3 separate regions of the Homo sapiens genome follow, and regions 1 and 3 are each linked to region 2. Evidence: promoter capture Hi-C in human tissues and cell types (Jung and others, 2019). All regions are on one chromosome and are shown on one strand. The core of a region is centred on a gene start or on the middle of the fragment in contact, and the rest is flanking DNA. Distances in the headings are between cores, read along the strand shown.

The links. Contacts are between HindIII fragments. The study calls those that stand out against the background at their distance.
Region 1: a contact is called between a fragment that was not itself captured here and the fragment with the promoter of SLC29A2 in region 2, in 3 of the 25 tissues and cell types used here (lymphoblastoid cells, mesendoderm cells and thymus).
Region 3: a fragment that was not itself captured here is called in contact with the fragment with the promoter of SLC29A2 in region 2 in 1 of the 25 tissues and cell types used here (mesenchymal stem cells).

The regions. Positions count from the first base shown.
Region 1 is chr11:66,637,726-66,641,526 of GRCh38, forward strand. The region is part of intron 1 of RBM14-RBM4 (RBM14-RBM4 readthrough); the gene reads left to right. RBM4 (RNA binding motif protein 4) reads left to right here and starts at 978. Exons shown (of 4, transcript NM_002896.4): 1 at 978-1,027; 2 at 1,975-2,398. The coding sequence starts at 1,987. RefSeq lists enhancers at 429-1,142, 907-1,276, 1,143-1,854. The HindIII fragment of the contact is 5,623 bases long and covers 1-3,801 here.
Region 2 is chr11:66,369,456-66,373,352 of GRCh38, forward strand. SLC29A2 (solute carrier family 29 member 2) reads right to left here and starts at 2,305. Exons shown (of 12, transcript NM_001532.3): 1 at 2,108-2,305; 2 at 1,789-1,870; 3 at 1-77. The coding sequence starts at 2,136. RefSeq lists a silencer at 2,001-2,760. The HindIII fragment of the contact is 13,916 bases long and covers 1-3,897 here.
Region 3 is chr11:66,777,593-66,781,620 of GRCh38, forward strand. All of the region lies in intron 2 of TOP6BL (TOP6B like initiator of meiotic double strand breaks), which reads left to right. Among named protein-coding and RNA genes, the nearest start is that of TOP6BL, 35 kb to the left of the region's middle. The HindIII fragment of the contact is 9,245 bases long and covers 1-4,028 here.

The DNA of each region.
Region 1 (3,801 bases), core at 179-2,678, 270 kb after region 2:
GGACCCTCTGGAGAATGTTACTTTGTATTTTGTTTACAGCTGGTTGTGACTAAGCTCTGTCCTCTAAAGTCGGTTCTAGGGGATTAAAACAGCTCTGGCTGATGGCGCCCAATAAAATAAAACAAAAAAACCTTTGCTGCTCCAGTTTTTTCTCAGGGTGGGGTCGGGGTATACTTTAAATCTCCATGGTCTCAGAAAGGTTTCTTCATCGCGGACCCTGGGAGGCTGGTTCCCAGAGGGAACTTGTCCTCAGCGTCTCCTGGACAGTGCAGCCTCCTGCCGGGCCTACTTCTGGAAGGCCATTACAGAGGTCCTTTCACCACCTGTGAGAGGTTTGATTTTGGGGGAGCTCCGGGACTCTCAAGGCTACAGTGTGGACTGCTGGCCCAAGGAGAAGGTTGGTTTCCTGAAGTGGTGGGTGGTGGGTTGGGGGGGGTCTTCGTTGTTTTTCTTCCCTGGCATGTGCCTGCATAAGCTATTTCCACAGCGTCCTGGCCGCGAGGGGGGGTGGTGCTTGGGAGGTTAGAGGGAGACACCTAGAGTGAACGGCAAAATGGAGCGCGGAATACTGTCTGGCTGTGCACGTGGAGGTGGCGAAATGTGGAAGCTTAACGAAGTTGGCGCCATGAAGCTAAAGACTGCTACCCCGGGGCTCTAGCTCGCTCCGCCTAATGGCGGGCCGCACCCCGCCGGCGAAGCCCACGTTTGTAGGTCCGCCCTCACGCTGATCTCTTGCCCAATCAGCGAGTTCGGCTTCGCGAGGTTGGTGCCCATTGGCTTTCGCATAAAAGCTCCGAGGTTACAGACGTTTCCACCTCTTGCCGGCCTCTTAGGTAATTGGCGTCCGTGGTAACCAATCAGGAAGAGGATCTGAGGGAACGCCGGCCTTTTACTTTCTTGAGTGGCCAATCCGGTTGTAGGCTCACCTCCCCCTTCTACTCAGAGCACTGCTGCGGCCGCCGCCATTTTAGCGTTTTGTCAGAAGCGTCCGCGCCGCGAGGAGGAGGCCCTGCTGGTTTCTGTGCGGGTGAGACTCCGAGCCTTTCCACTGCCTTTCTTGTACTGTGTTAAATCTTCTCTCACTCCCTTGGGCTTCGGGGGTGTCCTGGTAGGTCCGCAGTCTCCACACCCGTCACTGAGAGCCGACCTCGGTCCTCGGCATTGCGCGGTAAGCCGGGAGCAGCCCTTCCCCCACCGCCCCCTGAGAATACCTTGCTTTTTTTCGCCCACCCTGTCCCGCGCCCGACATGGCTGCTCTTGGAGCCTCGAGATTTCCACTGGGATAACCCCCTTTCCCTTATATCTGACAGTTACATTCTCGTTTCGGGAATTTCTCGGGCCGTGAGACATCGTCTGGTTAATGAATCTGAAGCTCTTTTCCGCGGCCGCGCATTTCAGTGTTCGGCAGGAGCTAGGACGGTGCCCCGAGAGAGGCGTTCACCACTCCAGTATTTCCTTTATCTCCCACTCCTCGCTGTCTGATCCGAGTCGCGCGTTCATTACTTCCAAAGGAAACTCAAATGTAGCTATTACAAGGCCCATTTTCCCGGAAATGATGGCTGCTTTGGTTCCTACGTGAGGAAAAGCCTGTTGATAATTTCAGGCAGGCAGTCAGCAAGCCTAGTAGACTTTTGTTTTCTGTTGTCCTCCTAGTGGATAGAAAAGCCTAGTACCCCCATTTCTTCATATGCTGTCTTTCATGCCCATTTCTGTTGGAAGGTATCGGTTCTTACCAAACCCTTTGTCTACTAAGGACCTCCCTATTGCAGACGTCTTCTTATTCTTACAGGTTCATGGCGGCTACTATAGCAGGCCTTAGTTCACTCCCACTTCCATTTGATTATTGTGTGGAGGTGTGTGTGCAGGCGTGTGAGAGAGAAAACTGGAAATATACATTAGAGTGAAAGTCGTTGTCTTTTGTGAACGGATGTGGGCCTGAGGTCTTTTGTCAGATGTCTTGTTTTTCTCTCCCAGGCTCTTGTCAGGATGGTGAAGCTGTTCATCGGAAACCTGCCCCGGGAGGCTACAGAGCAGGAGATTCGCTCACTCTTCGAGCAGTATGGGAAGGTGCTGGAATGTGACATCATTAAGAATTACGGCTTTGTGCACATAGAAGACAAGACGGCAGCTGAGGATGCCATACGCAACCTGCACCATTACAAGCTTCATGGGGTGAACATCAACGTGGAAGCCAGCAAGAATAAGAGCAAAACCTCAACAAAGTTGCATGTGGGCAACATCAGTCCCACCTGCACCAATAAGGAGCTTCGAGCCAAGTTTGAGGAGTATGGTCCGGTCATCGAATGTGACATCGTGAAAGATTATGCCTTCGTACACATGGAGCGGGCAGAGGATGCAGTGGAGGCCATCAGGGGCCTTGATAACACAGAGTTTCAAGGTGAACCACCCTCTTTGGGTAGAGGGCTGAACACAAGGCTGTGTGCAGAAAATGGTTGGATAAGTAAAAGGAGAGGTTTGGTAAAGATAACAGCTGTTGGCTGGCTGGTGATGAAGAAATAAGTGTGGGTGATGGACTTCTTATGATGTAGAATGCATGGGACTTAGGGGCTTTACCTTAGGCAAATGTCTCCTGGAGAAAAGCCACTCACCTTTTATTTGGAGCCCCTACGGCTTTTGTGCTTATCAGTGCAGAAACCCTTTTCTTTGAAGGCTTTCTGAGTTACTGGGCCTTTTTTATTTTTTATTTTTTTGTAGTAGAGCACAGTTCAGAGTTCCTCACTCTGAATTTATTGCCCTCAGCACAGGATCAGAATTCTGCATTTTACGTGAAGAACCTCTCAAAAACATGTCAAGCGACACTTATAGGACCAGAATCCTTGTTAAGCTGTCCTACCTTACACAAACTCTTTAAAGGGTTACAGCTCTTGTTGCTTTTATATTATACCTGTACCAAGGGATTGTATTTTGAGTTTAAGGCCACTCTAGAATTACAAGGCTGATTTTAGGACTTCCTGGGGAGGAGGCACTGGGGTTTTAGGGGCGGTAATGACTGTCTTTTCATTGGTTTGGGGGGCTGGACTTTATAAGATTTTGGTGAATAGAGCACTTAGATTTGTGTTATCTTGGAGTCTTAACCAAATGAATCTTTTGTGCCTGGAGGGCAGCATGGGTGATATGTGGATTGTCACTTCATTTGGAAGCATCTCAAATCCCCAGCATTTTGAATGCCTACATGTTGCTCAAAGGAAATGCTTGTTAGAGCATTTTGGATTTTGAATTTTCAGATTTGGGATGCTAAAATGGTACGTAGAACGCAAATATTCCAAAATCTGAGGTCTGAAGCAACAGTGGCAGTTCAGGGGTGGTGATCATGGTGAGTTGCTATCTGAACTCTTCTTTCACCTCCTTTGGGTTCCCAGTGTCAAAAAGAGTGGTGTCCTTTTTTAGCTTAATTAAGCAGGACTGAACAAAAATAATAAAAAATAAAAAAAGCCTTATTCAAATTATGGAGTATTTCCGTGACTCCTTGCTATATTTCAAACCTGTGTTCTGACAGTGTAGTTTGCCGATTCTTTTTCTGGGTACTACCTTTGTTAAGAGTCATTGCTGCCTTTGGCGTCCATTTCCCTTAAATTGGGCTTTTTTAGAGCTGAGAGTCTGATCATTATTTCCCCTAGTAATGGGTGCCCTGTGTCATGGGCATTGCTGTGCGTTAGTAAAGAAAAGTGACACAGGTCTCTCAGGTCTAGTTTGCTTTCTTTTTTTTAATTGGCAAGTTGAGAATTATTTTGTCAACAACTTAATTGAGAGCAAAGGTTGCTCTTGTGGAGGGTTTATGGT
Region 2 (3,897 bases), core at 1,055-3,554:
TCCTCGGGACCCGTGTGGTTGGTGCTCAGGATCCTGGCTGTGCTGTTGCCGGCCCCGGCCAGTCGCGCCTGGAAGTACTGCCAGGTGGGGAGGTGGTGGAGGGTCAGCACCTCTCAGCCTTCCCCCGCTGCCTTCCCCCTCACTTGTGATTGCTTTCTAATGTCTGTGGGGACTTGTCTGCCTTGTCCTTGTTCTGTTCCCAGCAGCCGGCACACAGTCGGAGCTCCATGAATGTGTGCTGAGTTAAATGGCTGAAGTCTGGGACACAGCCTAAGCATTAAGAGCCCCCAGCAAGAGCCTCGATCCAGCCTTGGACGGCCCCTCCTCTTCAGTGCCCTGGTTCCAGCCCCCATCCCCACTCCTGCAGCAGCTGCTACATTCATTCATTCCACGGGTATTTATTGAGCGCCTACTGTCAGCCAGGCTTTGGCCTAGGTGCTGAACAACTGCATTCTCTCTAGAGCACATAGCCTGCCACTCCTCTGCTTAACCTCCTCACTCCTCAACACCCCGATTCATGCCTCCCTATTGCCTGCAGGGCAAAGCCCCAAATGGAACAGCTCTTCAGAATCAGATCCTAGTCTCCCTTTGTGCCCCATCTTCTGCTCCATCCTGCTAAGCTCCAGGCAGCCCTGGCTGTGGATCTCCCTCTAAACAGGCTGATCGTCTCTTGCCTGCCTGCCTTTGGCATGGCTGTCGCCTCGGCCTGGAATGCCCTACTGACCACACCCCTCCACATGCACTTTGCCTACCCTACTCCCAATTTACAAATCTCCTCTTCCATGAAGCAGAAGGAACTTTCTCCCTCCCCTGGGGACCCACTGCACTCTGCTGCAAGCCTGGAATGTCACGCATCATGTTACATTATTAATAGCTCTTTGGCCCCCTCTTGCTCTCAAGCCCAGGGGCTGATTCATCTCTGGGTTTCCAGGGCCCAGCACAGAGCCAGTACCCAAGAAGCATTTGCAAAGTTGTTGCAGTGAATACAGATGAATAACCCGGTCCCAAAGACAATGCAAACCCCACATTTCTGCCTTCCCTGAAGAGCCTCCCTGCTGTTTCCTCCTGTGTCCCCAGTGCCTGCTCCACAGTAGATGCACATTAAAAGTTTGTTGAATGAGGCTGGGCACGGTGGCTCACGCCTGTAATCCCAGCACTTTGGGAGGCCGAGGCGGGAGGATCACGAGGTCAGGAGATCGAGACCATCCTGGCTAACACGGTGAAACCCCGTCTCTACTAAAAATACAAAAAAAAATAGCCGCGCGTGGCGGCGGGCGCCTGTAGTCCCAGCTACTCGGGAGGGTGAGGCAGGAGAATGGCGTGAACCCGGGAGGCGGAGCTTGCAGTGAGCCGAGATGGCGCCACTGCACTCCAGCCTGGGCGAAAGAGCCAGACTCTGTCTCAAAAAAAAAAAAAAAAAAAAAGTTTGTTGAATGAATGAGTGAATGAATGAAATTCATGGTATTTCAAAGAAAATCAAACGTTCGATAACCGACTTTTGGGGTGACTGACTCAGGAATAACGACACACAGAGAGGGGTGGCAGCGCCTTTGCTCATTCCAGACCCTGTGGGCTGGTGGCCTTGCCCCTCTGAGATGTGGGCATTGCTGAAGTTCTACTTTCCTAGCCACGGGGGAAGCATTCCCCTCTCCGAGCTTCAGCCCATAATGAGCTCAACGAGGGGTCACAGGTGCGCGGTGAGGAAGCGCCCGCTAAGCTTCATCCAAAGGGCTGGAGGGAGGGGTGCTGGCTGTGGCCACGAGGCTGCCACGCCGCCAGGAGTCTCACCGGGATGGCGGTGATGAAGAAGTTCCAGGGAAGGAGGGTGCCCAGCCCCAGGATGAAGAAGCTGATCCCGACCAGGTGGTAGCTGTGGGGATCGGTGGGAAGGTCACCCCGAGGACGCACCCGCCTCCGCAGGCCCTCCCGCCTCCCAGGCCACCCCCTCCGGAGCGGACTACAACCCCGATCACCCCGGTTCCGGCGGCCGAGGGAGTCGGCTGATGGGAATTGTAGTTCGATCCGGTCTTCTCTGAGCCTCGGAGCGCCTTCAGGGAGCGGGTCTGCAACGCCCCCGGCCACTTGCAACGCACCCGGGCCCACTCACCTGTCCCGCGGGGCGTCTCCTCGCGCCATGGCCGCCGCGGCGGATGCGCCTGGGGTGAAAGGGGCAGAGAAGCCGCACCTGCACCTGCGCTGGGGCGGAGGGCCGCAGACCGGTGGGGCGGGGGGCGGGTCTCCCCAGATTCCGGTGCAGGGCGGCTGGAGTCGCACAGGTAGCCTCGGGCGGATTTCGGCGTGTCTCGCGCTCCGCAGGCTGGGACCTGGGCTCCGCCCCGAGGCGGGGACAGAGGGTCGCGCCACCCGTCTCTCCTTCCCCCACCCGCCTCAGGGACTCGACTCTGGCTCGGGCCCCGCCCCACCTAGGGGCCTGCGGAACCCGCCCGCTCCCCGCACAGCCCCTCCCCGCAGCCCCCCGTCCTCTCCGCGGGGGCGGGTCCCGGATCCCTGCGGCGGAGGGGAAGGCGGGGGTAGGGACGAGGTGTAACCTCACCTCCACCCCCCGCCGAGAGCTCTGTAGGGGCAGCACTGGTGCGGGGCTCTTCCCGCTTCGTCAGCTCCGAGGTGATGCCAGAGCCGCTCCTGCGACCCCTAAAGCTGGAACCCACCGGGGCGCCCCCTAACTAGGGAGCCGCTGCGGAGTCCCCGCCCAGAGCGTAACCCGAGCCGGGCCCGGGCGGGGGAACCAGAGCTGCCACAGGTCGCCCGCGATCCTGGCGGGCTTCGCCGCGCTGGGTCCCCGGGAGTGCCTGGAAAAAAACAGCATTACTTTCAACTCCCTACTCTTTTTCTGTTAAAAAAAAAAATTTGAAAAGACTATAAATCATTAATTTGCTCCTACTCTCATAATCTACGAATAGGTGTGGGTTCTCTGCAATCCCCGGGCGTATCGGGGACGCTGGAGAAGTGAGAGGCTCCAAAACACAAACTAGTTTTTTTGAGACTGAGTGTCGCTCTGTCGCCCAGGCGGAAGTGCAGTGGCGTGATCTTGGCTCACTGCAACCTCCCCCTCCCAGGCAGGTTCAAGCGATTCTGGTGCCTCAGCCTCAGGAGTAGCTGGGACTACAGGCGCATGCCACCACGTCCGGTTAATTTTTGTATTTTTAGTAGAAACGGGGCTTCACCAGCTCTACTGAAGAGGTGGCCAGTCTAGTCTCGAACTCATCTTTTGACCAGGCTGGTCTCGAACTCTTGACCTCAGGTGATCCGCCCGCATCGGCCTCCCAAAATGTTGCTATTACAGGCGTGAGCCACCACGCCCGGCCACAAACTATTTTCTTAAGCAATGACATTTTATAGCCATTCCCAGGTTGCTTATGTTTTTCCTCCAGCCGACTGAGAGTCTGTAGGGGCAGAGGCTGTGCTTATCTGGTCCATTGGTTTACTGGCAGCATCTAGCGCCGTTGAGTGATAAATGGGTGGTTGCAGTAAAATGCAGGTGATTTTAGGGAGAACAGAGACAGCATTAAATTACACCGAAAGAGAAAGTTATTCTTCCCATTTTCTTTCAAGCCTCTGAATATGTCAAGGGTGTTAACAGGTTGCTAACACTTCTTAATCTGCCTTCCCATCCCTTCCCCTCAGTTAGCCTCAGAGGGTCTGCTGACAATTTTATCAAAAGTTATTAACTTGTATTTTTCTTATATTTATTTTTATAGCAACTTTATTTTCAGGGCTACTCATACTGGTTTCCTATTTATGATTATGATATCAACTTTTCTTTGAAAAATCAATTTATTTATGGAAAATGAGTTATTTAAAGAAAAGCGAGGCCGCTGGTGCAGCACAGCTATGGCACAGGTTGTGAAGGAAGGACTTGAGAATGGAGGCTAGGGA
Region 3 (4,028 bases), core at 735-3,234, 410 kb after region 2:
CTTTGTAAAAAGTGTTGGCCAGGCGTGGTGGCTCATACCTGTGATCCCAGCACTTTGGGAGGCTGACATGGGTGGATCACTTGAGGTCAGGAGTTCAAGACCAGCCTGCTAACATGGTGAAACCCCGTCTCTACTAAAAATACAAAAAAATAGCCTGTAGTCCCAGCTACTCGGGAGGCTGAGGCAAGGGAATCACTTGAATCCGGGAGGTGGAGGTTGCAGTGAGCCAAGATCACACCACTGCACTCCAACCTGGGCATCAAAGCAAGACTCCATCCCCCCAAAAAAAGTTGTGTCTTGTAATGCTAACATTTGTAGCAAAGTTACCAACTTCACCGTACTTTGCCAGCATTGGGAATTTCAATTACTTAAAATATTTAAGCTAATTTACAAGTTAATGAGATGGTTAAAAGTTTTAATTATATTTCTCTGAACCTTTTAATAAGTGTTTACCACCTCTATTTTCTGTTTTCTGAACTTTGTGTCTTTTTCTTTTCTTTCTTTTTTTTTTTTTTTAAGAGACAGTCTCAAACTCCTGGGCTCAAGTGATTCTCCTGCCTCAGCCTCCCAAATTGCTGGGATTACAGACTTGAGCCACTGCACCCAGCCTTCTCCATGTCTTTAGGGACAAACTTCTAGGATGAAATTTAGGATGAATTAAGTCATTAGCTTGACACCATGATGTACAAATCCCTGAATTTCAGTTTCATTGTTAAAATGCCATTGTTTCAAGATGCTCAGTTGGCTATGGAAAGATAGGTCATCTATCCCAGCTACTCAGGGGGATCTTTTGAGCCCAAGAGGTCAAGGCTACAGTGAGCTGCGATCACAGCACTGCACTCTAGCCCGGGCAACAAAGTGAGACTGTCTCCAAAAATAAAATATAAAATTTATATGGAAAGAAAAACCCAGAATAGCCAACGCCATATTGAAGAGTAAAGTCAGGGGACTGGCACTACCTGACTTCAAGACTTATAAAGCTACAGTAGTTAGCCCAAGGTAATTAATAGATTCAATGCCATCCCCATCAAGCTACCAATGACTTTCTTCACAGAATTGGAAAAAACTACTTTAAAGTTCATATGGAACCAAAAAAGAACCCGCATTGCCAAGTCAATCTTAAGCCAAAAGAACAAAGCTGGAGGCATCACGCTACCTGACTTCAAACTATTCTACAAGGCTACAGTAACCAAAACAGCATGATACTGGTACCAAAACAGAGATATAGACCAATGGAACAGAAAAGAGCCCTTAGAAATAATGACGCATATCTACAACTATCTGATCTTTGACAGACCTGACAAAAACAAGCAATGGGGAAAGGATTCCCTATTTAATAAATGGTGCTGGGAAAACTAGCTAGCCATTTGTAGAAAGCTGAAACTGGATCCCTTCCTTACACCTTATACAAAAATTAATTCAAGATGGATTAAAGATTTACATGTTAGACCTAAAACCATAAAAACTCTAGAAGAAAACCTAGGCAATACCATTCAGGACATAGGCATGGGCAAGGACTTCATGTCTAAAACACCAAAAGCAATGGCGACAAAAGCCAAAATTGACAAATGGGATCTAATTAAACTAAAGAGCTTCTGCACAGCAAAAGAAACAACCATCAGAGTGAACAGGCAACCTACAGAATGGGAGAAAATTTTTGCAACCTACTCATCTGACAAAGGGCTAATACCCAGAATCTACAGTGAACTCCAACAAATTTACAAGAAAAAAACAACCCCATCAAAAAGTGGGTGAAGGATATGAACAGACACTTCTCAAAAGAAGACATTTATGCAGCCAAAAAAAACACGTGAAAAAATGCTCATCATCACTGGCCATCAGAGAAATGCAAATCAAAACCACAATGAGATACCATCTCACACCAGTTAGAATGGCGATCATTAAAAAGTCAAGAAACAACAGGTGCTGGAGAGGATGTGGAGAAATAGGAACACTTTTACACTGTTGGTGGGACTGTAAACTAGTTCAACCATTGTGGAAGTCAGTGTGGTGATTCCTCGGAGATCTAGAACTAGAAATACCATTTGACCCCGCCATCCCATTACTGGGTATATACCCAAAGGATTATAAATCATGCTGCTATAAAGACACACGCACATGTATGTTTACTGCGGCACTATTCACAATAGCAAAGACTTGGAACCAACCCAAATGTCCAACAATGATAGACTGGATTAAGAAAATGTGGCACATATACCATGGAATACTATGCAGCCATAAAAAATGATGAGTTCATGTCGTTTGTAGGGACATGGATGAAGCTGGAAACCATCATTCTCAGCATACTTTTACAAGGACAAAAAACCAAACACCGCATGTTCTCACTCATAGGTGGGAATTGAACAATGAGAACACATGGACACAGGAAGGGGAACATCACACACCAGGGCCTGTTGTGGGGTGGGGGGAGGGGGAGGGATAGCATTAGGAGATATACCTAATGTTAAATGGCGAGTTACTGGGTGCAACACACCAACATGGCACATGTATACATATGTAACAAACCTGCACGTTGTGCACATGTACCCTAAAACTTTCATAAAAAAAAAAGAAACTGTGGTATTGGCAAAAGAATAGGTAAATAGTGTTTTTTTGCTCAATTTTGAGTATTTTTAAATACTCAAATACTTATAATTCCCTGCCTTATGAGATTATTTTTGCTCTGAAAAGCTAGCTGTCAAGAAAAATTCAAGGAAAAAAATAGTCTTTTATATTCACTTATTTATGATTTCTGGTGCTCTTCATTTCTTCCTTTATAGCTGGGTTTCCATCTTCAGCCTGAAGAAAATCCTTTAGCAAATCTTCTAGCAGCAGATTATTTCATCTTCTATCTTAAAATGCCTTTACCTTAACCTCATTTTTAAAGGATATTGCACTGGAATATCTGGCTTGATAGTTTTCTCCTTTTCAACATTTTGAAAGATGTTGTCAATTGTCTTCTGCGCTTTATTGTTTTTATTTATTTATTTTATTTTATTTTTTTGGAGACAGAGTCTCACTCTCTCACCCAGGCCGGAGTGCAGTGGCGTGATCTTGGCTCACTGCAACCTCTGCCTCCTGGGTTCAAGTGATTCTTGTGCTTCAGCCTCCTGAGTAGCACTGGGATTACAGACATGTGCCACCACACCTGGCTAATTTTTTGATTTTTAGTAGAGACAGGGTTTTTCCATGTTGACCAGGCTGGTCATGAACTCCTGGCCTCAAGCGATCCACCTACTTTGGCCTCCCAAAGTGCTGGGATTATAGGCATGAGCCACCGCGCGTGGACCTGGCCTTTATTGTTTATGGTAAGAAGTCAGCTGTGATTCATTTTATACCTCCTGTGTATATGATGTGTGCTTTTCCTCTGGCTTCTTTCAATATTTTATCTTTATCTTTGGTTTTTATCATTTTGACTATTATATACCTAGGTGTGATTTTCTTTGCATTTATCCTCCTTGGGGTTTGCTGAGCTTTTCACACCTTAATATTTTTCATGAAATTTTAGGGAATTTTGTTCATGGTTTTTTGATGTTTTTCTTGTCCTATTCTCATTTTATTCTCCTATCCTCCTTCTGGGACTCCCATTGCACATATTTTAGACTGGTTGATATTTTCCTACAGGTTTCTAAGACTATTCATTTTTCTTCAGTCTTTTTTTTCTTTATTCTCCAGATTGGATAGTTTTTGTTATTTGTCTTCAGTGATTTTACTGACTCTTCTGTCACCTCTAATCTGCTATTAAACCTATCAAGTGAATTCTTCATTTCAATTATTTAACTTTTCAGTTATAGAATTTCTTTTTGGTTCTTTTTGTATAGTGTTATCTGCTGACATTTCCTATCAGTTCACTCATTAAGGCCGCCTTTTAAGCCTTTGAACATATTTATAATAGATTCTTTAAAGTCTTTCCTAAATGTAATATCTGTACCATATCAGGTTCTGTTTCTTTTCTTTTTTCAGAGACAGGGTCTCACTCTGTCACCAGGCTGAAAAGTGCAGTGGCACAGTCATAGCTCCTGCAGCCT